Linked DNA regions of Homo sapiens: region 2 is linked to region 1. The links are contacts of gene promoters, found by promoter capture Hi-C in blood cells and fetal thymus (Javierre and others, 2016). All regions are on one chromosome and are shown on one strand. The core of a region is centred on a gene start or on the middle of the fragment in contact, and the rest is flanking DNA. Distances in the headings are between cores, read along the strand shown.

What was found. Contacts are between HindIII fragments. The CHiCAGO score rates a contact against its expected background, and 5 or more counts as called.
Region 2: a contact is called between a fragment that was not itself captured here and the fragment with the promoter of ADAM7 in region 1, in 2 of 17 cell types (megakaryocytes and monocytes). The highest score is 5.7, in megakaryocytes.

What each region holds. Positions count from the first base shown.
Region 1 is chr8:24,439,644-24,442,343 of GRCh38, reverse strand. ADAM7 (ADAM metallopeptidase domain 7) reads right to left here and starts at 1,318. Exons shown (of 22, transcript NM_003817.4): 1 at 1,184-1,318. The coding sequence starts at 1,235. The region is part of intron 1 of ADAM7-AS1 (ADAM7, ADAMDEC1 and ADAM28 antisense RNA 1); the gene reads left to right. The HindIII fragment of the contact is 2,181 bases long and covers 1-2,004 here.
Region 2 is chr8:24,244,588-24,247,287 of GRCh38, reverse strand. No RefSeq gene overlaps it. Among named protein-coding and RNA genes, the nearest start is that of ADAM28, 48 kb to the left of the region's middle. The HindIII fragment of the contact is 768 bases long and covers 1,054-1,821 here.

The DNA of each region.
Region 1 (2,700 bases), core at 69-2,568:
TGTTATTCCCACTTTACTGGCAAGGAAATTGACACTGATATTTACAAATCAGGAGAATATAAGGAAACTTGGAAAGGAGCCAAAGAAATCAGTGTCCCTCCATTTCCTCCATATTTTCGCCATGTTCTGCAGCTGTAATTTTATTTTTTGTTTCATTTATTTATTTTTTTGAGACAGAGTCTCGCTCTGTCAGCCAGGCTGGAGTGTAGTGGCGTGATCTCGGCTCACTGCAACCTCCGCCTCCCCGGTTCAAGCGATTCTTCCACCTCAGCCTCCCAAGTAGCTGGGATTACAAGTGCACACCACCATGCCTGGCTAATTTTTGTATTTTTAGTAGAGACGGGGTTTCACCATGTTGGCCAGGCTAGTCTCAAACTCCTGACCTCAGGTGATCCACCTGCCTCAGCCTCCCAAAGTGCTGGGATTACAGGCATGAGCCACCATGTCTGGCCTGCAGTTGTCGTTTTGTTATCCTCATGCCAACCTCTGGATTTTGTCTCCTGTCAAAGCCTGCACTGTTGTCCTGTTTGAATGTAAATTACTGAATTTGGTCTTCCAGGGATGTTTGCATTTAAAGTCTTACCTTTCGTAGTTAAGTATAAGACCTTTACCTGTTAAAGAATTTTGGGTAGCCCTGCATCAGTGCCAACCATAATCTTCTATTCATGTCCTATCACCTTGATAGTCATCTGTGAGATGAGCCCTGCTTAATTAAGGTGTGATACTTAAAGAGCAATAAAAAGGAGAGGGCATGGGGTTTCTGGAATATGCTCTGATTTGAATCAAGCCTTTACCAATTTATTGTGTGGCCAGCAGTAGCATATTTAATTTCTCTGATCTGTAAATAGTCTCATTTTCCTTATCTGTAAAGTGGAGATATTAATTTCAAATTTTAAACACTTTAACATACAAAGCAGCTAATGGCCAGCACAGTGCCTGCCATGCTGCAGATATGCAGTACTTGTCCACTCCTTTCTCCTCCTCACTGTGGGTCAGAATGTTCAAGAGTGATATGGCATTACACAGATGCATGGAGTCTCATGATTAGCTGTAATCTAGTCGAAGCTCTCAGAAAAATCATCAACGTTTAATGTTTTTATCACTTACAGTTTAAAGTTTGTGACTAAAGAGACACAACCTCACAGCATAATAAGAAAGTCCTGATAAAAAGAGCAAGACATACCTTTAACCTGAGGAATGAGTAAAATCATCAAGAATATACACCCGGGAAGCATTCTGAGTGATTCTGGTAGAGGAGAGCAGAAGTGCTTGAGAAAAGGAGTTCACCTTTCTTCCTCCTCACTTCCACTGCAGGGATGAAGCACCTCACAGATAGGTGGGCAGTTTTGATCCACAACAAGGAAGTGTTCCTTGAGGGAGTTACACAACTTGCTAGGTGCTTGAGGCTAAAACCTGGAGGTTGAACATCATGTTCTAATTAAAGACAACTACCGAGGTGGTGGTGGTGAAGGTTGGCTGGACATAGATTCCTACGTCATGTCTAATATAAATTTGATTCCAGATATCTGAAAACTTCAAAAGTGGAAAAAAATCAAGAATGTCTTAGGAAAAAAATGTTGAAAAATATTTATATATGCTTTGGTTGAAGATGGTTAAATTCTTTCTATGCAGAGTATGCCATATAAAAACTAAAAGGAACATTTGTTAAATGAGAAATATTGAAAATTTATATGGCATAAATCACATATTAAAATTAAAATATCCAAACTACAGAAATGTATGTAATAAATAAATAAAAGGTGGGAGTAAGTGTCCATATAATATAGAGCCCTTTCAAAGCAATACAAAAAAGAATACCAATGGACAGATGTGCAAAGGGCCTCGACAATTCCATCTGTATGTCTGTGTTCTCTTGTTATGTTAGTAGAGTTATCCCATGGCCAATAGAATCCTTTTATCTTCATTTGGGATTCTATTTCTCACCCGCATCTATATGTCTCTAATATTTCCACAAACTGAACGAATCTATGTCAATTGGAAGCTTCCTTTTGATATTTAGACCCTCTGCTCCAAGGACGACTTTTTCTACAAGGAAACATAAGAGGAAAAATCCATCTGACATTAATATTCATCCATTGTGGTTGAAAAACAGAATTGTCCTCATACAGTTCACTTGCTCCCAGTTAGCAGCCATGTATAGCAGCATTATAAAATATAATCCCCACTTTGCAGGTGGGGAAATTGACACTGATATTTACAAATTGGGAAAACATAAGCAAACTTGGAAAGGAGGCAGAGAAATCGGAGTCCCTTGGCTTAAAACGGGGGTACCATTTTAAGTCAAGTCAAAAGTCTCTCCTTTTTGAAAAATTCTCTCTATTCTATATCTCATATACTCTTACTATCACTTTTTCTCCCATTTCCTTTACAGCTAAATTTCTAACACAGTATTACCTGGACTTCTTGCAATTTTCTTACCTCAAACTTATCCTACCACATCCCAGTTCTAGCATCTGCCTTTATTATTCTACTGAAATGGCCAATATCTCCAGTGATTTTACCATTTCTATATCCAAGAGATATTTTGTTTCCTCATCTCATTTGCCCTTTTAACAATTTTTAGCACTGTTGACCACATCCTTCCCCTTGAAATATACTATTTAGCTCCCTTGCCACAATAGCCTTCTTAACTTCTTCCTGGTTCAGTGGCAACTTGTAGGTATATCCTTTTCTATGTAG
Region 2 (2,700 bases), core at 188-2,687, 200 kb after region 1:
GATGAAATCATACGGGGTCAAATGGGTTTTTCTTGCTGCCTTCTATTCCTGCGTGGGATTGCACAACTGGTTGAGCCAGATTACTGATCTGGTTGGCGCCAGCTGTTGCATCAGAACTAAGGGTCTAAAAAACATCTCAAGCATCAATCTTAGGATTTACCATTGTGATGCTATCCCTAGGAGCAACTGGGAACGTTTGGAATACTGTGGCCTCTAGCTTCATAACTCCTAAATCATAATTTCTAATCTTGTGGCTAATATGTTAGTTTTACAAGGCAGTCTGGTCCCCAGGCTAGAAGGGGGCTTGTTTCCGGAAAGGGCTGTTATTATCTTTGTTTCAAAGTTAAGCTGTAAACTAAGTTCCTCCCAAAGTTAGTTTAGCCTGTGCCTAGGAATGAACAAGTGCAGCTTGGAGGTTAGAAGCAAAATGGAGTCAGGGGGCCAAATCCCTTTCACTGCCATAATTTTCTCACTGTTATAATTTTTGCAAAGGTGGTTTCAGGTATGCCATGCATGTCAGGTGAAAATAAATTCTTTAAATCTCTAAACTCTGAAATGTTATTGACAAGGGGTTATCCCTGCCAAGACAGCTGGAGCCATTCTACTCAAAAAGTAGGAGGATTGTATTTAAGGTTCTTGCTTTCAGATTAAATGCTGTGCAAAGCCTTAGGGCTTAACTCATTCTTACCTCTGATTAAAATTTGTTTTCAATAGAGCACTCATTACATTTGTATTGAGGTAAGAAGAATGAGGCAAAGAAGAAATAACAGTAAATTGAAGTCAAACTATTTAAATTTCTACACTTTTTAATTCTCATGTAGTTACTTAACCTCTCTGTCACCTCAATTGTCTGTAAAATCAACAGAATAATGTCTGTTTCACCTAAGATCACAGTAAAGATTGCAGTAAATAGTAAATGTGTAAAAATGGTTGAAAACTGGGATAAAATGCAAATAGGCAGATGTGAAAGAGGTCTTGAAATGATAATAAGAGAAGCACATGAAAATGACTTTCAAATTTATGTTTCTTTGGATAGTGACTGGTTTCTAAGCTTCATCTGGACCATGGCATGTCCTTAAAACCAATTAATTCCTTGAAATCTAATTCCCAATATGATGGAATTTAGAGGTGGGGCTTTTGAGAGGTAATAGATCATGAGGGTAGAGCTTCCATGAATGGGATTAGTGCCCTTATAAGAAGAGGCCAGAAAGCTAGTTCACTTCTTTTCTGCTATATGCAGACACAAAGAGATGTCAGCTGTTTACAACCTGGAAGAGAGCTGTCACCAAAACCCAGCCATGCTGGCACCATAATCTTGGACTTCCAGCCTCCAGAACCATGAAAAATAAGTTTCTTTTGTTGGTAAGCCATCTAGTTTATGATATTTGGTTGTAGCAGCCCAACCTGACTGAAACATCATTCTTCATCGTCCATTAACAGGTACAATATTTTATAGGGCCACTGGTATTAAATCATTCATTCAATAGTGTGAGGCATACAGCTAGCCACCAGGAATACAGAGAGGTAAAATATCCTTACCAGGAAAGTATGTGGGAATTCTTTGCGCTGTCTTTGCACCTACTCTGTGAATTCATCTAAAATTTAAAAAATTAAATCTCCATTAGTTCTATACTCTGTGTTATGACTGGTTAAAACAATTATCTTCCATAGACCATTATAACTCAATTTGGAGAATGATGAGAATGTGTAAGTAAAAAATGTTGAAAGGTCAAAATAAATATCCTCACAGGGGCTCATGATGTAACTACAGAAACAGCTATAGAAACAGCTTATGATGTAGCTACAGAAAGAGGACAAGCTTACTGGAGTTGAAATAGAAACACTCCTAAGATCAATGGGCAGCACTTTTAAAGTACCACTGTTTATTCAGTAACATTTTTTACTAAAAATATTTGAAATCCCCAAATGACAAGCTACCCATTCTGTTGAGGAGGTAAAGACAGATGCTATGGCCTTGGGTCCTTAGCATCAGCTGGGAAATGCTCTTTGTGATGGGAAGTGACTCAGGTCCATCACAGCAACCGGGAGGCTGACAGGCTGGCTGTGATTGTGCAGAAGAGCCAACTTTTTGCAAGCGAACGTCAGATCTTCAGGCTCCTTCTCTACGTATTGCTGCCACCTAGTGATCAAATATTTTTGTGAAACACCAAAATAAGAGAAATGTAAGCACTCTCAGATTGCTTTTTTAGTTTAATGTTTATGTGAGCAATCTAAAGTGCTCAATAGGAATGCAAAAATTCATAAAGTTGAGTAACAATTTCATATTCATCATATATCTGGGTTCTTTGGAAGATGTATAAACTCTATTCCTTAAAAAAGTTTACAATCTACTGATTGACAAAATTGAAAGTAGTACAATATAGTATGAGTGGGACAAGATCCTTATACTTCTGCTCCTACTTTGGTGGTTTTGATATCAATACATGTATTAGTCCATTTTCATGCTGCTGATCAAGACATAACTGAGACTTGGCAATTTACAAAAGAAAGTGGTTTAAGGGAGTACTCACAATTCCACATGGCTGATGAAGCCTCACAATCATGGCAGAAGGCAAGAAGGAGCAAGTCACATCTTACACGGATGGCGACAGGCAAAGAGAGAGCTTTTGTAGGGAAACTCTCATTTTTAAAACCATCAGATCTCATAAGACTTATTCACTAGCAGGAGAACAGCACAGG